4 separate regions of the Homo sapiens genome follow, and regions 2, 3 and 4 are each linked to region 1. The links are contacts of gene promoters, found by promoter capture Hi-C in human tissues and cell types (Jung and others, 2019). All regions are on one chromosome and are shown on one strand. Each heading gives the region's core, a stretch centred on a gene start or on the middle of the fragment in contact. The rest is flanking DNA. Distances are from core to core; before and after follow the strand shown.

Region 1 (5,132 bases), core at 2,597-5,096:
AACAGGGGAGAACTGATGGGGAGGATCTGACAGGCACTAACACAGAGGCCGATAGCAAAGAGCGGAAGGGCCACAACAGGCAGGATGAGGGAGACACTTATGAGGGAAACTTACTGACAGTGGGGCTCACTGACAGAGGCACTGGCACTGATGGGGGGCACTGACAGAGAAGATCAATGACAGGTGGGGACATTGCTGACAGAAGGGGTCACAGAGCGCTTGGACTGACAAGGAAGGGCACTGGCAGGGGAGGGATTATGCGGTCAGTGACTGACGGGTACGGGTGGGGGTGCAGGCACTGATGGGAAGTGGGGACATGACAGAAAGAAAATAATTGACTGGGGGGGCACTGGCTGACGGGGGACAGGGATGCGGGACTCTGACTGGGGGACACTGATGGGGAGCAGAGTGGACTGACGGTGGGGGAGCACTGACCAACAGTGGAGGCACTGACCAGTGCGCGGACTGACAGATGCGGAGGCACTGACCGACAGGAGGAGCATGACTTGCAAGGGGCACTGACTGACGGTGGGGGGCACTGATGGGTGGGGTGGGGACTGATGGGTGAGGTGCAATGACTAGCTAGCAGGGGACACTGACTGGTGCAGGAAGCACTGACTGGTGTAGGGTGGGGGAACAGAAGGAGGGCACTGACTGGGGGGGCACTGACTGACTGGGAGGGAACTGACTGGAGGGGGCCCTGACTTGGGAGGAAACTGACTTGGGGGGCACTTACTGGAGGGGAACTGACTGGAGTGGGCACTGACTGGGGGCACTGATTTGGGGGGCACTGACTGGAGGGGGCACTGACGGGGGAACTGATTGCGGGGGGAACTGACTGGGGGGGCACTGACTGAGGGGAACTGACTGGGGGACACTGAAGGGGGCACTGACTGGGGGGAACTGACTAGGGGATGCACTGACTGGGGAGAACTTACTGGAGGGGCACTGACTGGAGGGGACAGTGACTGACTTGGGGGGGGCACTGACTGGGGGGCACTGACTGACTGGGGGAACTGACTGGAGGGGGAACTGACTGACTTGGGGGGCACTGACTGGGGGGCAACTGACTGGGGGAACTGACTGGAGGGGGCACTGACTGGGTGGGTCACTGACTGGAGGGTTCACTGACTGGGGGGAACTGACTAGAGGATGCACTGACTGGGGGGAACTGACTGGAGGGGGGCACTGACTGGGGGGGAACTGACTGGAGGGGGCACTGACTGGGTGGGTCACTGACTGGAGGGTTCACTGACTGGGGGGAACTGACTAGAGGATGCACTGACTGGGGGGAACTGACTGGAGGGGGGCACTGACTGGGGGGGAACTGACTGGAGGGGGCACTGACTTGGGGGGCACTGACTGGGGGGAAACTGACTGGAGGGGGCACTGACTGGGGGGGGGAACTGACCGGGGGGGGGGAACTGACTGGAGGGGGCACTGACTAGGGGGGCACTGATGGGGGGAACTGACTGGAGGGGGCACTGACTGGAGGGAAACTGACTGGGGGGAAACTGACTGGGGGGGAACTGACTGGAGGGGGCACTGACTGGGGGGAAACTGACTGGAGGGGGCACTGACTGGAGGGGGCACTGACTGGGGGGCACTGACTGGAGGGAAACTGACTGGGGGAAAACTGACTGGGGGGAACTGACTGGAGGGGGCACTGACTGGGGGGAAACTGACTGGAGGGGGCACTGACTGGAGGGGGCACTGACTGGGGGGCACTGACTGGAGGGAAACTGACTGGGGGGAAACTGACTGGGGGGAACTGACTGGAGGGGGCACTGACTGGGGGAACTGACTAGAGGGTGTACTGACTGGGGGGGGGAACTGACTGGAGGGGGCACTGACTGGGGGGGGAACTGACTGGAGGGGGCACTGACTGGGGGAAACTGACTGGAGGAGGCACTGACTGGGGGGGAACTGACTGGAGGGGGCACTGACTGGGGGAACTGACTGGAGGGGGCACTGACTTGGGGGGGAACTGACTGGAGGGGGCACTGACTGGGGGGAATTGACTGGAGGGGGCACTGACTGGGGGGCACTGACTGGGGGGAAACTGACTGGGGGGGCACTGACTGGGGGGAACTGACTGGAGGGGGCACTGACTGGGGGAAACTGACTGGAGGAGGCACTGACTGGGGGAAACTGACTGGAGGAGGCACTGACTGGGGGAAACTGACTGGAGGAGGCACTGACTGGGGGGAAACTGACTAGAGGGGGCACTGACTGGGGGGGAACTGACTAGAGGGGGCACTGACTGGGGGGGAACTGACTAGAGGGGGCACTGACTGGGGGGGAACTGACTAGAGGGGGCACTGACTGGGGGGGAACTGACTAGAGGGGGCACTGACTGGGGGGGGAACTGACTGGAGGGGGCACTGACTGGGGGAAACTGACTGGAGGAGGCACTGACTGGGGGAAACTGACTGGAGGAGGCACTGACTGGGGGGGAACTGACTGGAGGGGGCACTGACTAGGGGGAATTGACTGGAGGGGGCACTGACTGGGGGGCACTGACTGGGGGGAAACTGACTGGGGGGGCACTGACTGGGGGGAACTGACTGGAGGGGGCACTGACTGGGGGAAACTGACTGGAGGAGGCACTGACTGGGGGGAATTGACTGGAGGGGGCACTGACTGGGGGGAATTGACTGGAGGGGGCACTGACTGGGGGGCACTGACTGGGGGGAAACTGACTGGGGGGGCACTGACTGGGGGGGAACTGACTGGAGGGGGCACTGACTGGGGGAACTGACTGAAGGGGGCACTGACTGGGGGGGGAACTGACTGGAGGGGGCACTGACTGGGGGGAATTGACTGGAGGGGGCACTGACTGGGGGGCACTGACTGGGGGGCACTGACTGGGGGGAAACTGACTGGGGGGGCACTGACTGGGGGGAACTGACTGGAGGGGGCACTGACTGGGGGAAACTGACTGGAGGAGGCACTGACTGGGGGAAACTGACTGGAGGAGGCACTGACTGGGGGAAACTGACTGGAGGAGGCACTGACTGGGGGGAAACTGACTAGAGGGGGCACTGACTGGGGGGGAACTGACTAGAGGGGGCACTGACTGGGGGGGAACTGACTAGAGGGGGCACTGACTGGGGGGGGAACTGACTGGAGGGGGCACTGACTGGGGGAAACTGACTGGAGGAGGCACTGACTGGGGGAAACTGACTGGAGGAGGCACTGACTGGGGGGGAACTGACTGGAGGGGGCACTGACTGGGGGGAAACTGACTGGAGGGGGCACTGACTGGGGGGGAACTGACTGGAGGGGGCACTGACTGGGGGGCACTGACTGGGGGGAAACTGACTGGGGGGAAACTGACTGGGGGGGAACTGACTGGGGGGGAACTGACTGGAGGGGGCACTGACTGGGGGAACTGACTAGAGGGTGCACTAACTGGGGGGGAACTGACTGGAGGGGGCACTGACTGACTTGGGGGGGGCACTGACTCCGGGGGCACCGACTGGGGGGAACTGACTGGAGGGGGAACTGACTGACTGGGGGATAACTATCTGGAGGGGGCACTGACTGACTCGGGGAGAAGTGACTTGGGGGGCACTGGCAGACTGGGGGCCGGGTCTGAGCGGCGGGCGGCCGCACTCACCTGCCCTGCGGGCCGGGCGTCGCGGCAGCTCTTCGGAGGCCCGTGTGGAGGCCCGAGCGGAGGCCAGGGCGCTGGTGGAGGCAAAGCCCGGGCGGCCTCGGGCGGGCCGCACACACATGGGCCCGGCCGAGGGCGCAGCGCCTACGGACACCGGCACGGCCGGCCGGCGGCTCGAGACCGACTCGGGGCCGCGGGCGGCACTCCGATCGCTCCAAAATGGCGGCGGCGGCGCACGGGCACGCGCTCCGGGGGCGGGGTCTCCGCTTGGGGCGCGCACGCTCGCGGCCGGGGGCGGGGCCGCGCGGGTGGGCGGGGCCGGGACCTGGGCCGGCTCTCCGGGCCCCCTGGAGTGGGGCACTCGGTGAAACCCGCGTGGGAGCACGAGGGCTTGGGTGTGCTGACTGCTGCCTTGGAGTGGGTGGGGTAAGAGTGCGTCTTTCCCCTTTTACGTTTCCCTTTGAGGTATTGGCTAAAGTTTTGTGCAAGCATAGTTAATTTTGTTGTAGCCACAAAACAATCCTCGCGTGGCCCGACGCAGCATTTGAGAGACACACACCTGGGGCAGGGGTTTCCCCCGTGGCCCAGGAAAGGGCCTGTTCTCCCGGGCCTCCCTCCTGCCACAGGCCCCTCCCAGAGGCCGCGGGGCGTGGACGCCCCGAGCAGCAGGAGCGGGCTCAGCCCCGGGCGCCAGGCCTGGCCCCTCCCCGTCCCGCGTCCTGCCTGGACCCGGAGTGCCTGAGCCGCCTCCAGACAGTTTTCTCCAGGTGCGCTACGGGTTCTTGCACGGCGTTTTGCAAATTAAGTATGTGCCTATTTAACAAGTGCTGGAATTGTTTAATTCCATCAAAATAATTTCAAAAATGATTACTATTATTTCAGATGTTAGAGCGAGCCGTGGGTAAATGTTGGGAAAACATGGAGCACTTAAGGGATCTCTAAACGTTTTTTCCAGTTGTCAGTGTATTGCCCAGGATTCACCGATGCTCTCTGCGAAAGCGTATCTGGGCGGCTCAAATATTCGGTATTTCTCTTTTGCCAGCTGGCGCTGTTAGGCTTTGTCGGTAGAGGGCGCCAGAGACGTTGCAGGAGAAAAGGGCTTGGCCCTGCGGCTGGCGGCCCCGGGCTTCCCCGACGCCTGTCCCCTGCCCTGGTCAGCAGCACCCTCCTCGCCGGTTTTATAGCAGATGCCTCTGGCGAGCCTTTCCCCAGCAAAAGCTTTTCCCCTAGCATCCTAAGGGGCAGATTTCTGGCAGGTTCCGTTGAGGGAACTTCCAGGAAGTGGGGGTGAAAAAGCCTCAGCCTCACAACCTAGAGAAGAGACACCCTGCGTTCAGCAGGCTATGCCCTTCTCCTGCCCTCACCATGGTCTCCTTTGCAGGAGCGGGAGGTGCTGCTGAGTTGAGCTACGGAATGGGGACTGGGGCCAGGGGCACCAGATGCAGGAGATGCTCCTGCTGCCGTGAGCACGTGCAACTCTGCCTGATCTTGATACCCCTCCTGTGCTCAGCCA
Region 2 (5,132 bases), core at 960-3,459, 200 kb before region 1:
CCACACTCTCCTGAGGCTTTGACCCGTCAGCTGGGGCAGGGGATGCGGCTGGGGTTGGGGTTGGGGCTGAGGTGGGGGCTGGGGCAGGGGATGCGGCTGGGGTTGGGGCTGGAGTTGGAGCTGGGCTTAGGGCTGGGGTTGGGACTGGGGTTAGGGCTGGGGATGCGGCTGGGGTTAGGGCTGGAGTTGGAGCTGGGCTTAGGGCTGGGGTTGGGACTGGGGTTAGGGCTGGGGATGGGGGTGTGAGGGTTGGGACTGGGACTGGGGCTGGGGCTGGAGTTGCGGCTGCAGCTGGACTTGGGGCTGGGGCTGGGGTTGAAGTTGGAGCTGAGGTTGGAGCTGGGGCTGGGGCTGAGGTGGGGGATGAGGTTGAGGTGGTGGCTGAGGTTGGTGCTGAGCTGGGGGATGAAGCCAGGGCTGGGGCTAGGACTGAGGCTGGAGCTGAAGTTAAGACTTGGGCTGAGGCTGAACTTGGGGCTGGCGCCGCTCTGAGATTTTCGCCCACGGAAGGATCCTGGGTAACCTCCAGGGGCAAAAAGTCTGAAGGAGAGGGGAGAGTCAGGGCTTCAGGTGGGAACCCCGGGCCGGGAGCTGCGGGCGGGGAGGCGGAGCGCGGGCGAGGCTCACGGCTCCGGGAGGGCGCGCGGCTGTGGCCGGCTGCAGCCGGCTTTGCTTGCTCCGGGGGCCGGGTGGGCCCCAGGTCAGCGGCAGGACTGTTATCTCGGGAGCTGTCAGCCCCGGCCTCGCCGGCATCGTAGGCCCCTGTGGCACCCGGCCCTTGGGACGAGAGTGGGCGACCTTGAGGCGGACTCTCTAGCCAGGGGCGCGTGGAGTCTGGGGCTGGGCCAAAGCTCCGGGTGCCCGGGACCTCCCTGCTGACCCAGGGCCAGCCTCCTCCGGGGGCAGGGACCCCCGAGGCCTCCCTGCTCCAGCCACCCTTGGCCCCAGAGCCTTCCGTCTGAGACCCAGGCTGCAGGGCGCGGGGAGCGGGCAGCGCCGGGAGTGCGGGCTCCTGGGCGAGTGGGGGTCCTGTGGGGAGGCCGCGCGCGTGGGCGTCCAGGGCGGCGGCCCCGTCCACCGCGTCCCACACGCTCCCCGCGGCGCCCAGGCGGAGCGGGTCCAGTTTCCGGGGGCGGCGGGCTCTGTCTCCCGAGCCAGCGTCCATCCGCCGCCGCCGGCCCCGGCCTCTCCCCATCGAGCCCGAGGGCCCCGCGCCCGCCTGCCAGGGGCCAGTGTCCTGTTGCCCCGCGGGGCCTGCGGCCTGGCGAGAGGACGCCCTGACACCACCTGTCTCCGCCTCCGCTTCGCTGCCAGGGCTCCGAGGAGTGAAGTGGATCAGGAGGGGGGCGGACATCCCCCCTGCTTCGCTCCTGCCCAGGAGGGCAGTGCCTGGCCTGGGAGGCTCCTTTCCTTCCGCTCGGGGGGCCGCGGGGGTGGCACTGCCCCGTTGCTGTCCTAATGCCTCTCTGCGGGCCTCCTCGACAGCCGTCTTGAGTGGAAGCCGGGCCATGGCGGCCAGGCCCCCGCCCGGCGCTGCAGCAGGGACAGGGCTCTGCTGGCCGCGTCCTGGGGGCTCTGGTTTCCCCTGCCCTGGGCTCTGCCCCTCGCTGCCATCACTGACCTTAGACTTCGGTTGCAGGGCCAGCTCAGCTCCTCCTGCCTGATGAGGTTGAGCCCCGAGGGCTGTGGACACCGGTTCTGCCGCCTCTTGATCGTGCCCGGAGCCAAACCAGTGTAAGGCCAGCGCTGTGGCAGCCACCACAGCCAGCGCCAGGAGGGCCAGCACAGCACTATCCCAGTCATTGTCACTGTCCCAGTCCCAGCCCCAGAGGGGACCATCTGGCTCCAAGGTGCCCTGGATCATGGTTCAGGGCTGCAATAGAGGCCTGATGGCAGGCTGGCAGTGCATGCAGAGCACAGAGGCCTGGGCTGAGGCACCGGCCAGCGCCTGCCCCAAGGGCTGCCCAGTTAAGGTGGACCAGTCCTCCAGGGCCTGGGAATGGTGGGGTCTCTGCTTGCACTCAGGCCTGGGGGTGTCAGTAGGGCCTGGCTGCAGATATCAGGAGACAGCGAGGCTTATGGCAGGATAGGAGCCCAGGGTCTCTGCAAGCACCCCACCAGCTCCTGCCCTCTTCTCCTCCTCGTAGGCCCCAGGGTCCTCAGGCAGCGTTCCTGAGCTCTGTGCTGTCATCACAGCCAACCTGCTTCTGCCTGGTAGACCCTCACACCCCTAAATTTATTCCACACCCCACAGTCCCTCCTCTCAGCCTGGGCCCAGCTTCAGGGGGCTTGGCAGGGAAGGGTTACCCACAGGGAGATGTTATCTCTAGCTCTAGCAATGTGATGTGGCCCTGATGAAATCACCAGAAACCGGAGAGGCTGATTCCACTGTGGGCCAGCAGGGGAGGGGTGGGGGCCGTGCACGGGAGGGTGCAGGCTGTGCCTGACGGTGGTCTCTCAGGCTGAAGAGGGAGACCCTGGACACGGGTCCTGGCAGTGAGCATTATCATTGCAGGGGTGCTGTGGAGGTTTGTACTGGGGCACAGGGAGGGGGCATAGAGAGGAGACTGAGGCTCCCATAGCTCCTCCTCCAGCAGCTTTTGGACTCCTTACTCTGGGTTTACCAGACATGGGATAGGGTTATCAAGTCAAGAGAAAAAAAAAATTAATGGGATAAATAAAATCCAAACATATTTCTCTCTTTATGGCCAGGCTTATTTCAGCCCACCTAGACCTTCTAGGATCTCCTGGACCCCCTGCGCCCATCGAGAGTGTCTTGACTGCCCAGATGAGACTCTCACTGTGCCCCTGGAGAACCCTGAGCCCAGCCTGCCCCCTACTCCAGTTACCGCATCAGCCAGCACCTGGATCCCTTAGAAACCACCCCCCTCTGGCCCCAGGTGCTCTAATAGCCAGACTCTGGGTGTCTTCATCTCAGTCCTCAGCCTTCCCTTATCTGAGCTGAGGACTCGCCCTCGAGACCACATCCTGGCTGGTACCTCCTAGCCCTGGCTCAGGCCGGCATGTAGGTACTTCTGTTGGATGTGAGCACTTGCTTCCTGAGGGAGAAGCCTGGGCTCCTCCACCTGCTCCTTGCTTAATCCCATCTCAGGAGTGTCTCGGGCCAGGTGCCAGGTGAGGCTCAGACAAGAAAAAGAGCCTGGAGTCCCTGGGACAAAGGCAGGGCTCCCTGGAAAGTACCGTGTGTATTTTTCCTTCCTCTGGGACACAGCAGGCCTGGGGATTTCTCCCTTACTCAAGCAGCAAGGAGATGGCCTAGGAGTGTCCCTGGCACCCAGCCTGAACCCTACTGAGCCTCAGGTAACTCACCTCCCAGCTCCCCCTGGGACTATTAGATGACAGGGAGAGGGTGAGGGTGGGCCCCATGCCTTAAGGTGGACCTCAAGTTGAGGGAAGGCTTTCTAGACCGTGCCCTTATTCTCTGTCCCAGTCTCAGGCTCTGCCTCTTGGTTAAGTTTGGGGTCCAGAAACCTTCAGAGGATGGAGATGACACCCATAAATATTAGAGACTGAGTAGGGGGCGGGAAGCGGTGGCGGCAGCGCACCCCCGGGGTGCAACTGCCCTGGAACTCCAAGTGGTGGCTTCAAAACTGGATTAAAATTTATTTCCGCGAAACCCTGGAGTCACGGTCCGGCGCCGACTGGCGTTTTCTGCCGTAGACTGAGAACGCGTCAGGGATGGCTCCGTTGGCAGCGCGCGCGAGCGCCCCCGGGCCGCGCCTGGAGGGTTGACAGCGACTCGCGGGCGAACTGTGAACCCGCAGCCCCTGGGCTCCGAGCGCAAACCTGGCGACTGGGAGGGCCCGGGGAGCGGGTGAGCCAGCGCCAGCCCCGCCGGCCCCAGGAGCGCGAATTTCTCTACATTTCCGGCTGTGGCCGCAGTTGGAGGATGGGATCAAAACGGGCAAAAAAGTGCGACCTGGGCCGAGGTGTCGGATCGCCTCGAGGTGGGAGGCCGAGGTGTTGGATCGCCTGAGGTCAGCAGTTCGAGACCAGCCTGGCCGACAGGGAGAAACCCTGTCTTTACCGAAAATAGAAAAATTAGCCGGGCGTGGTGGCGGGCGCCTGTAATCCCAGCTACTCCAGAGGCTGAGGCAGGAGAATCGCTTGAACCCGGGGAGTTGCAGTGAGCCGAGATCGCGCCACTGCACTCCAGCCTGGGTGACAGAGCCAGACTCCATCTCAAAAAAAAGAAAAAAAGACACCAGCAAAGGGTTTTTTTCTGTTAATAACTAGGTCCCCCCAACCCCCCAAAAAGGAGGATGGTTAAAAGCAGAAAAGGCAAAAAATAAAGGCTTTTGGCCGGGCGTGGTGGCTCACACCTGTAATCTCAGCACTTTGGGAGGCCGAGGCAGGCAGATCACCTGAGGTCAGGCGTTCAAGACCAGCCTGGCCAACATGGTGAAACCCCTGCTCTACTTTAAAAAAAAAAAAAAATTAGTGGGGCATGGTGCCGGACACCTGTAATACTAGCCACTCAGAAGGCTGAGGCAGGAGAATCGCTTGAACCCGGGAGGCGGAGGTTTCAGTGAGCCGAGATCGCACCGCCACACTCCAGCCTGGGCGACAGAGCGAGACTCTGTCTTAAAAAATAAAATAAATAAACTCTTTTATATTTCAAAATCTGAAGACAAATCACTGTAGTGCAGATAAAATAAAACGTTCATATCATTTTATTATTTTAACGTGTTTCATATTATTTTAACGTGTGACATTAAACAATTTCAGGGCCGGGCGCGGTGGCTCAAGCCTGTAATCCCAGCACTGTGGGAGGCCGAGACGGGCGGATCACGAGGTCAGGAGATCGAGACCATCCTGGCTAACACGGTGAAACCCCATCTCTACTAAGAATACAAAAAAATTAGCCGGGCGCGGTGGCGGGCACCTGTAGTCCCAGCTACTCGGGAGGCTGAGGCAGGAGAATGGCGTGAACGCGGGAGGCGGAGGTTTCAGTGAGCCGAGATCGCGCCACTGCACTCCAGCCTGGGCGACAGAGCGAGACTCTGTCTCAAAAAATAAAATAAATAAAATAAAGTCTGTTATATTTCAAAATCTGAAGACAAATCACTGTAGTTCAGACAAAACCTTCATACCATTTTATTATTTAACGT
Region 3 (5,132 bases), core at 1,095-3,594, 190 kb after region 1:
AAGAGAAAGGAAGCATGCAGCCTCCTGGGGTCACTGTGGCAGCCGCTCTGGTTGGAGGGTGCAGGACACTGCCCAGGCCCCACACAGGACAAGGCCTTCACCTCCCGTGCGGCAGGGTCTTTCTGTACCTGTGGCCCTGTGCTGTATGCACCTGCCCTGAAGGCTGTGTGGTGGGGACGGCAGCGTGCTGGTCTCTCCTGCTGCGGCCACGTCACCTGCACCCACACCTCCAGCAAAGCAGCTAGCGGGTACAGGCGCACAGCGGCACTGGAGGATGAGGCGAACCTCCGGGGGACAGCAGAGCTCTCAGGCGCCCTCTGGGCCCAGCAGCTGCTCACGGCCGGCCATCTTCCTGGGGGCAGTTTCATGGCCTCCTGGCACAGCCGGTCCTGTCTTGCGGGTAGTCCCTCATGAGGCCTTCCTTGGCCTGAAGACCCCCACCTGCTCCCTACCCTTGACAACCAAGAATGGGGTCCAGTCCTTTTCCCTGAAAGTCTGCCCATGGTAACTGCCCCTCATTTTCTATTGATGTTAATACTGGCAATGGGAATCAGATGGAGACTGTTTTTCTGTGGGCTACAGGGGCTTACAAACTGAGGCTACTTGGTTCACTGTTGAATGATGGGCCCTGGAGGCCCAAGCTCAGTGTGCTGGGGGCTCCAAAGATGCAAATCCCAAAGCCCATCCCTCAGAATTTGGTGCAAGGTTGGCTGAGAGCCCAGACCTGCACTTCAGTGGGACCTTGGGGTCAGAGACCACTGAGGAGACACTGCCTGCAGTCACTCTAGGGCAGGCTTTTTAAGTCACAAAAATTATTTCTTGCTTTTCTTAACGTTAACAGAGTAACACAGATTTTAACTTATTTTACTGAATCTGACCCCAGAGTCTCAGCCATCAGCACCAGGCTGCAGTTTCTGCTGACGGGGGAGGTGCTATGGTGGGTGCTCCCCTGCACTCTGCCCACGGATGGAGATGACTCAGGTGGACAGAAGAGTGAGCTGCTCGACTGCCCTGGAGCCTGTGTCTGCTTAGCTGGGGACCTGAACGCGCTGGAGTCTGTGACTCACCAACAGGGGATTATGTGCGCCACAAGCACCGAAAGCATTTTCGTCCCTCTGGTACGCGGGTCGAGACATCAGCCGTTCCAAAAAGGACACGTTCAGCCCATAGGCCATGGCGAGTCTGGACTTAATGACTGGGCCGAGCTGCATGGGGTCTCCTGCCAGCACGATCTGCACACAGAGGGCCCGTCTCAGCTCATGCAGGGAGGGTGCCGCTGCCACTCCTACGGGCTCAGGTGGGAATGGGGCTGTGCGCAGGATGGCCCCATGCTCACTCTTGCTGCAGGGGACGACGGGAGGGACTGGGAGACCAGGGAATGCCGACAGGGCTTGGAGCCGTCTCTCCCCGCTTCCCCCTGAAGTCCTGCCATCTGCCTCCCCGAAGTCCTGCCATCTGCCCGGCTTCTGCAGCCTGGTTTTCTCTCCTGCGAATCTCTCAAAGTGGTAAGAGCCCCAAGGATGCCGTCTATCTTCTGGAAGCTTCTGCATGGCTGGCCCTGGCCGCCATCCCACCTGCCCCTTGCCTCTTGCCCATGGTTGCCTTGACCTGGTCAGGCCGCCCTATGCCGCTGCTCTGCCTGGACCAGTCCCTGCTCCCTCCCTAGGCGTCACCTTCATGCTCCGCCCCACAGTGCCTGGTGACTGGGACAGACATCTAGGATGGGTGCCAAGGAGGACCCTGAAATGTCCAGTGCTGGACACTGGATGAGCTCGCCTGGATGAGCCACAGTGAGAGAACCAGGGAAGTTCAAGGTGATGCCCACGCCACCATCAGAAGCACTCGGGGAGGAAGCAGGTGGGAGCAGAGAACAGAGGATGCACAGAGCTGGAGGCCAGGGCAGCCTGAGGGGCAAGTGGGTCAGATGCAGGAGCACTGGCCCTGTCCGCCCCTCCAGGCACTGAACGGCCGGCTCACCCAGAGCAGGGACCACATTCCTGACTTTACCGCTGTATCCCCAACACCTAGAATGGCTCTTACCTCCGTTTTACAAGTAAATGAGTCAAGACATTCACTTCTAGTCCAAAAGGAATAAAGTACAATAGAGACCCATGGCCCCCAACACCTCGGGGTCCTTGGCACTTCCACCTGACCCCTGTACAGCTGTGACTGTTCCCGGCAGGATCGCAGCCTGCATCCCCTCAGGAGAACGGGGTGAGGAGGAAGCAGCACACACAGTAGTCGGGACTTACCTGGCCACTGATGTCCGACATCAGCCCCAGAGGAATGAGGCATTCCGGCTCACTTGCCTGCCCAGCCTCGTCCACAAACACGTGAGTGAAGTGCCCAACTCTAGAGCAAAGATGTTCTAAATGGTAATTTCTGCCGAATTGTTTTAGCAATTGATGCCTCTGACACACTGGCAAAGCCACGCTCAGCACCCCGGGGGCACAGCAGGGTTGCCCAGGGGTGTGCAGGAGCTGGGGGTCTGGGTGTCACCCGGCTGGAGGGAGGACAGGCCACAGGTGTCAGGAGATGCTAAGCCACATCAGCACCCAGTGCTTTGCACGCAGCGTCTGTATTTCTAGAGATGTGGAGGGAAGAAGGGGTGGGAGCGATGGGCAACACACGAGCGCCTCCTGGGGGCAGCTCACAGGAGAAGCGCCGCAGGCTCCTGGCCTGCTCTCCACCTGCGTCTCACTCCTGTCATTATCAAAATGCCCAGGCTCTAGTCCTGACTTCCCCTCTCTGAGCCTCCACCTCCCACGTGTCTCTCGGGAGGTGGCTGAGGTGAGAGCAGCTGAACTGGCCGCTGTAAAGCGCTGAGAACAGGCCTGGCCATGCAGGCGGCCACAGATGGCAGCCTCTCCTGCCATCCGCTCATTTCCTCCTGACTCATCCTTGTGAGCCACTCTCAGCTGGGCACTGCCTGGCCTGCATGCCAATAGGCTGAGGCCCTGGGAGCCACTTCCCAATCTGCGGCACCATTAAGAAAATGGGGTTGGTCGGGCGCAGTGGCTCACGCCTGTAATGCCAGCACTTTGGGAGGCCGAGATGGGTGGATCACGAGGTCAGGAGATCAAGACCATCCTGGCTAACACGGTGAAACCCCGTCTCTACTCAAAATACAAAAAAATTAGCCGGGTGTGGTGGCGGGCGCCTGTAGTCCCAGCTACTCGGGAAGCTGAGGCAGGAGAATGGCGTGAACCTGGGAGGCGGAGCTTGCAGTGAGCTGAGATCGCGCCACTGCACTCCAGCTTGGGTGACAGAGCAAGACTCCATCTCATAAAAAAAAAAAAAAAAGAAAAAAAGAAAATGCGGTCTCTAGAATGGCTCCCCACAATTCTGGCCCCTGCTGCAAACTCAGTGAGGTTCCCAGCTACAGAGCAGCCCTCCTGGCGGGTACCTGTCCGGCTCTTCCTTCTCCGTGTGACAAGGGAGGTAAGGGAGGTGCAGGAGCAGAGAGTCCACAGCGTTGCTGATGGACGGGGTGGGGATTTTGCGGGAAGGAGTCGTCAGGAGAAGCTGCGGAACTCTTGCATGGGAAGGCTGTGGGACTGAGCGGAGAGCAGGAGCTCGCTCGGCACATGATCTGTTTCTAGAGTGCAGAGGGGCCACCCCACCTGGGGCCATGAGCTGAGGAACAGGTGCCCCGGCTTCCCTGGCTCGCCCACCCCAGCAGCTTCTGCTCTGTGGTCAGGAGGCCTCAGTGGGGAAATGCTCTTGGGGCAGAAACATGTCCTGATGCCTGAGGAAGCAGGTATGGGGCAGAGAGAGTGTCCGGAGCCACGCCAACACTCAACAGGACGCACCTTGGGCCCGCACCGTCCTCACTGCCGAGCCCACGTTTACCCTTCTCACTGCTGATTCCAGGATCTCCCCTCTCCAACCCTAGATGCTGGGCAAATCCATCACCTCTGAGCCTCAGGTGTCCCACTGTGGGGTGAGACCCTGTGGTCAGACCTGTGCGGGGGCGGGCTCCTGCTTACAGCAGTGCTGGGCCCAACATGTCCTGCATCCACTCACGGTCAGCTGACACCTTTCACTTCAGGTATCAATGTGTAACTCTCAAGACACGGATTTCACAAGTGACACCGTGAACCCCTCCCAGTGAAAGATGTGGAAATCAGCAAACTGCCATTTCCCCATCTCATGTCCCTATTTCTGTTGAAAAAAATTAACATTATGTATCTTTCCTAGAATGTAAGTATTTAGGTTTCAATTCTGTATTAATTGCAGTTATTTAATGTCACTTTTGCCAGATGACATTGCTACTTCTTTGCCCTTTGAAGTGCCCCTCCCCACTCCAGCCGCCCCCAGTGGCCAACTAACGCTGTGGGGCCTCTGCAGCTGGGCTGCAGCACCCTCCCTGCTTCTGCACAGAGCGCCTCTGAGAGAGCGGCCTGCAGCACCCTCCCTGCTTCTGCACAGAGCGCCTCTGAGAGAGCGGCCTGCAGCACCCTCCCTGCTTCTGCACAGAGCGCCTCTGAGAGAGCGGCCTGCAGCACCCTCCCTGCTTCTGCACAGAGCGCCTCTGAGAGAGCGGCCTGCAGCACCCTCCCTGCTTCTGCACAGAGCGCCTCTGAGAGAGCGGCCTGCAGCACCCTCCCTGCTTCTGCACAGAGCGCCTCTGAGAGAGCGGCCTGCAGCACCCTCCCTGCTTCTGCACAGAGCGCCTCTGAGAGAGCGGCCTGCAGCACCCTCCCTGCTTCTGCACAGAGCGCCTCTGAGAGAGCGGCCTGCAGCACCCTCCCTGCTTCTGCACAGAGTGCCTCTGAGAGAGCGGCCTGCCCTGGCCGGCCACCTCCTCCCACTACCTGAACATCAGCTCCAGGGTGCAGGGTCCATGCAGTGCCCGCTCTGCCCCCAAAGAGCCCTCTGCACCCCAGTGAGGACTGGCTCTTCGGCTCTTGACCTTTGACTCATCAACACACATTAACAAAAAAAATCCCTGTCTTGTTCAGATCCGTGCTGTCCAATCCGGTAGCCACACACGGCTCTCGGGCACCGCACAGTGGCTAGTCTGAAACCTGACATGCTCTAAGTGTAAAATACATGGTGGATTTTGAAGACTTGAACCAAAAAAAATGTAAAGTGTCTCATCAATCACGTTCTACTAATCTCATGATGAA
Region 4 (5,132 bases), core at 601-3,100, 150 kb after region 1:
CCAGGCACAGCCACACTGACTGGGGGCATGGGCTGTGAGAGGAACCTGGGCAACAGGCAAACAGGTGGCTTTGACCCCGACCCTGACCCTGACCCTTGCCCGCGGCTGCGCACCTGCCTCACGGCCTGCTGCAGCTTCTCCAGGCTGAGCTCCTGGGCCTCCCGCAGCAGCGTGCTCTCGTCCATCTTCAGCATGGACACACGATATTGGCAGAGCTCCACGACCACCACGTCAGGCTGCACCTCCCGGATGGTCTGCAACAGCCACAGGTCACACCTCGAGAACACAGCCGCTCCCTGCCCCTCAGCACAGCTGACGCCAGCACCAGGGGCCCCATCCCAGGAGCAGCCAGCCTTGGCGTCACCCCAGGGCTAGCTAACCCCGCTGCTGCAGTGACAGCTCAATTCTCTAAGCGACGAGAGAGGAAGCTGTGAGGCTTGTTCACTTGTTAAGTGGGAAAACGCACAAGGCCGTCACGGCTCCCAGGCAGGAAGCCCACCTTGCCACTCCCAGGGACCACAGTGTTGAAGCAGGAGGCCTGCGGTGCGCACACACGGGCACACGGGCCCTGCCGGGAGGTCCCTGAGTGCAGGACACAGGAGCTTACACCAACCCGTGTCCGGGATGTGGCGGGTGGCGGCGCTCACCTTCACAACGTCCCTCTTGCTGTCGTCGCTGAAGTGGGCTGTCCCCACCACGTACACCCTGCTCCCGTCCTCAGCCACCAACTGGGTCACAGTGCGCGGCAGGTTGGGCCGCTGACGCCGCCGCTTCAGCTTCATCTCCAGGAGCAGGTTGAAGGCGTCCACGTCGGCTGCAACAGCAGCACAGGCCGTTGTGGTGCCGGGCCCACCCCAAGGACGCCGCCGGGCCCGCTGGCAGCCTGGGCTCTAGAACCCTCCTGGGTTCTGAGAACTGAACAGGTGCAGAGCACAAGACTCCTGACGAGCGTCACACTCCACAGGCTTTGCCTGCCCAGTGATGGGAACACCGGCTACCACCTCTGTGAGCTGCACGGCTTCGAGAAGCCAGGGCCTCAGGAGTCCTGTGCCCCATACACCCCATGAGGGCGACCTTGGGGGTTGCTGTGGATGAGGTTCGGTGTGGGGGACAGTGGGGGCAGGTGCCGCAGGGGGCTCAGCTAGGGGAGGGGCTCTGAGGCGAAATGGGCCCCCCCACCCCACTCAGGAGGGACAGGCTGAGGCCACAGCAAGGAGGGACTCCCGTGCCGCTCACACTGCTTGTGCTCACGAGCCCCCCATGCCCAGGGGCCTGCCTGTGCTGCTTGCAGCCCCTCCAAGAGGCTCCACTGCCAGGCAGGGCCCAGGAGCAGCTGCTGTTGGGTGGCACCAGGCCTAGCAGCACCTACCTCAGGTCTCGGCCAGGGCCCCTGCTCACCACAAGCTCCAAGCCCCTGGCAGTGGTTGGCTGCCTCCCCCTCCTCCCTGACTCAACAGCCCAACACCGGGGAACGTGCCAGGACCCTGAGGGACACGTACACAGGTTCTGGGGGTCTCCAGAAAGCACCCTGGGCACCGGCTCTGAAGCCTCTGACGGCACAACAGGTTCCACGTTGGCCTGCAGGTGGAAAGGAGAGTTCAAGTCAGGGTCCATGCACCCCAGAAAGCCAGGGCTCCGTGGCAACTCCACGGACCACGTACCCTGGAAAGGGACCCGTGGCCGCTGTGTGGACCACACACCCTGAAAAACGAGGGCCCGTGACCGCTCCACGGACCACGTACCCGGGAAAGGGACCCGTGGCCGCTCTGTGTACCACACACCCTGAAAAGCAGGGCCTCCGTAGAGCCTAGGCCCCACACTGTCAGTACCCCTCCTGCTTGGCCATCACTGGCACGGCTGCCATCAAGCTGGGCAGACAGGGCCACCAGGCCACCTCAGCCCAGCGCCCCTCTCCCTCGGAGGTGCCTCCTGCCTGACCCTGGAGAACCCTGTGAAGATCACCTTTGCAGAACAACAGCCAGGGACCGACCCCGAGAGCCCACAAAGCGGGGAAGCCCCCCGCCCCTGTCTCTGTGCAGCCAGCCCAGCCTCCACCTCACCTCGTGCGGTGGCTGCTGCTCCTCCCCGTCCATGGCTGGGCGGCGGCTTCCTGCACCTGTGGGGAGCCTGAGGAGAGGCATGAGAGGCGGGGTTTCCACCTGGAGCCCCAGACCTGGCTCAGGACTCACTGCGTAGTGCCCTGTCAGTCTAGAACCATCTGTTGGGTGGGCCTGGGGGCTCCTTCCCCCATATCCCCAAATGCCTCCTGCCCATCAAAGGCTGCTGAGGTCCAGGGTCGGTTCAGGTCAGGCCCGGGTGGGGAAAGGCCAGCAGGTCCCCAGACACCCCAGCATAAACCAAACGCAGACGGGCCCAGGGCGGGTTGCTGGTGCACAGGCCTCACTCAGAACAGGGCCAGAGCTGCCCAACCCTCACTGCGGCACGGCGGGCACACATAGGAAGGCAGCCCTGGGGTCCACACATGATCTCAGGACACAGCAACGCAGCTGCTGACACATGGCAAGGACCCCAGGGCCTTTGTACAAAAGCCACTTCCCCTTTCAGTAACTACAGCCTGGGCAACAACACCGGCACAGAGTCAGTACAGACGGAGGAATCCACAAAGCACACAAATCAACGTGTTTGGACCTAAGACCTTCTCTCCCACTTTAAGAGACAAACATGGTGTGGAAGGAACCACGGTAGAAACCCGGACAGGCTGGGGCAGCCACACGAGGGGGCTGCCCCGAGGCATCACAGCTCCCCACAGACTCTCAGAAACCAGGAGCTCAGGCCGGGGGCCCAGGAGCCTGAGGGAAGGAAGAAAACAGCCAGGCGCCTGCAGCACCAGAGGCACGCACCGGCCAAGACCCACAGAGCATCGGCGAGACCTGCGCGGAGCCCCTCGAGGCGGGGCCAGGGACCAGCAGGCTGTCCTGAGACTGGCCACAGGCCCTGCTGCACCATGTGGCTCTTCCTGAATGTTCTCAGCCACGGAATGCCAGGAGTGACTGTTTACCAAGTTAATGGCTCATGCATGTCCTGGCGGATGGATGTGTCACCAGGCAGAATCATTAAAATATCCCAAACAGGCCAGGCGCGGTGGCTCACACCTGTAATCCCAGCACTTTGGGGGGCCAAGGTGGATGGACTGCCTGAGCTCAGGAGTTCGAGACCAGCCTGGCCAACATAGACCATCCTGGTGAAACCCCATCTCTACCAAAAATACACAAATTAGCCAGGCGTGGTGGTGCACACCCGTAATCCCAGCTACTGGGGAGGCTGAGGCAGGAGAATCACTTTGAACCCGAGAGGCTGAGGTTGCAGTGAGCCGAGATCCTGTCACTGCACTCCAACCTGGGTGACAGAGGGAGACTCTGTCTCAAGAAAAAAACAAAAGTAAAAAATAAAAATGAGCCGTTGGAAACCATTCTGAGCTGTCTAGTCGTGCAAGGTATTGTGGTTTTGTCTTGAAGCGTCTGCGTCAGTCAGACACGAGCATCTGGCGAGGAAACGACGGGGCTTGTAGGATGTGCTTCAGAGGGGCCACTGCCGGGTTCTGCACTGATGCCTGCGTGCATCTGGGGTCATTTTCATGTCACTACTGCTGCCCACTTCTCAGAACTCATAAGAAAAAGGAACAATGAGCAATAAGACGCTATGTCAGGTTCCTTTCCTCTGCAAACCCTGTTGGCACACAGCCACAGCAGGCACAGACCTCGGCCCCAGCCAGGACTCACAGACCCAGCTGGGTCCTGGCCACCCACATCCAAGTTAAGATGCCTCCAAGCTTGGGTGTCCTAACCTGTGAACAGGAAGGAGCTCTCTGTGCAGTGTCTAGGAGGGCAGCTCAGGGGCTGGGGGAGCAGGGACGGCTCTGAGCAGGGGAAGAGGCCTGTCTCAGTGCAACCAGAGGCCCCATCTGAAGCTGGCCGAGAAGAGGGCAGCCCACCCTGCCCTCTTCTTGGACAGCCGGGACTTCTGGGAGAGGAACTGGCCTGGCTTGGGGTGGGTGGTGCAATGGGGCCATGGTCGGGGGAGGTCAGCTGAGACTAAGGAGACAGCTGATAAACACCAGGCTCATGTCCCCGGGGGCCTTGAGCCTCTGCAGAGGGCAAGGGGGGCCCGCTCCACAGGCAGGCTCCCCTATGGGGCCTCACAGCCTTGGCAGGGGGTCCCACTCCTTGCCACCTGGGCTTGAGTCTGGACCCAACCCTGGCCTGGGCGTCTTAGCGGTTGGCACATCCAGGAAGTGCAGCTGGCACCGGTCACAGCAGGACCAGGCCCCGGACCCTTGGGCCGCCTCCTTCCCCTTTTGTAGGTGAAAGCTCCACGATGCAACCCGACCGGAACCCACCGGAAGCTGTTGTGAGCAGCCGCCAGGCCAGCCAGCCCAGACAAGCACCCGGTCCGGGAGACGGCCGCCTCCCTGGGTCTAGCTACACACACAAGCCAGAACTCTTAGGAGCAGCGCAAGACTGCCGGGGCGCACGGGGGAAACTCACACACGGAAGTCCGGACCATTAGAGCAGCGCAAGGCTGCCGAGGCACACCGGGGAAACTCCTTAAAGAAACTCCTGTGCAGCCGGGCGGGAGGCTGCGTCGGCCCAGCCAACAGGAGGCGCCCACGTCGCCACAGCCCTTCCCCCATGGGTGTGGCAGCCCCAGGTCTGCGGTCAGCCCCCACCCTCCACCCAGCCTGGCCAGACCCGCCTCTGAGGCCGGCCTAGGGTACGCCTGTGGCCATGGACAGGGCAGGGTCTCGGTGCAGCAGCAGGCGCTGGTCCTGACCCCAGTCGTGCCATGGGGTGGGCGTGCACAGGTCTCCTGTCAGGGAGGGCAGAGAAGCTTTCCTGGGCCGGCTGCCAAGCCTTGAGCAGGACGATGTCAGCGCCACCAGAGGCAGTGCCAGCCCCCAGCCCTGGCCCCTGCAGCCTCTCAGCAGAGGCGTGCTGCCCGCAGGGAGCCAGGCGGGAAGGTCACTGAGGACCCCCCAGCACCTAAAGCCCGTGATTCTGGGGGACGTCTCTGACAGTCACTCTTACAGTCTCAACACTCTCTTTCCCTCCTCGCCAAGGCCCCTGGAGAGCTCTAGGGTGTGATTTCAGGTTACCAGCCCTCCTCCCTCTAGT

The links. Contacts are between HindIII fragments. The study calls those that stand out against the background at their distance.
Region 2: the fragment with the promoter of KLHDC7B here is called in contact with the fragment with the promoter of PPP6R2 in region 1 in 2 of the 25 tissues and cell types used here (dorsolateral prefrontal cortex and spleen).
Region 3: a contact is called between a fragment that was not itself captured here and the fragment with the promoter of PPP6R2 in region 1, in 1 of the 25 tissues and cell types used here (spleen).
Region 4: a fragment that was not itself captured here is called in contact with the fragment with the promoter of PPP6R2 in region 1 in 1 of the 25 tissues and cell types used here (dorsolateral prefrontal cortex).

The regions. Positions count from the first base shown.
Region 1 is chr22:50,342,041-50,347,172 of GRCh38, reverse strand. PPP6R2 (protein phosphatase 6 regulatory subunit 2) reads right to left here and starts at 3,846. Exons shown (of 24, transcript NM_001242898.2): 1 at 3,623-3,846. RefSeq lists silencers at 3,586-3,665, 3,676-3,955, 4,226-4,395 and an enhancer at 4,492-5,132. The HindIII fragment of the contact is 17,181 bases long and covers 1-5,132 here.
Region 2 is chr22:50,542,976-50,548,107 of GRCh38, reverse strand. KLHDC7B (kelch domain containing 7B) reads right to left here and starts at 2,209. Exons shown (of 1, transcript NM_138433.5): 1 at 1-2,209. The coding sequence starts at 1,864. It overlaps KLHDC7B-DT (KLHDC7B divergent transcript), which reads left to right. Exons shown (of 4, transcript NR_199716.1): 2 at 1,640-1,734; 3 at 2,713-3,321. It overlaps LOC102724608 (a long non-coding RNA gene), which reads right to left. Exons shown (of 2, transcript XR_430484.4): 2 at 5,095-5,132. RefSeq lists a silencer at 3,594-3,888. The HindIII fragment of the contact is 12,740 bases long and covers 1-2,582 here.
Region 3 is chr22:50,146,835-50,151,966 of GRCh38, reverse strand. It overlaps MOV10L1 (Mov10 like RNA helicase 1), which reads right to left. Exons shown (of 27, transcript NM_018995.3): 20 at 2,253-2,352; 21 at 1,068-1,232. Among named protein-coding and RNA genes, the nearest start is that of PANX2, 21 kb to the left of the region's middle. The HindIII fragment of the contact is 5,425 bases long and covers 1-5,056 here.
Region 4 is chr22:50,190,022-50,195,153 of GRCh38, reverse strand. It overlaps TRABD (TraB domain containing), which reads right to left. Exons shown (of 10, transcript NM_001320485.2): 2 at 2,061-2,127; 3 at 1,500-1,578; 4 at 648-814; 5 at 114-254. The coding sequence starts at 2,093. Among named protein-coding and RNA genes, the nearest start is that of TRABD, 6.7 kb to the right of the region's middle. RefSeq lists enhancers at 2,415-2,504, 2,585-2,634, 3,395-3,544, 3,735-3,954, 4,225-4,584 and 2 more and a silencer at 3,195-3,244. The HindIII fragment of the contact is 4,938 bases long and covers 1-4,319 here.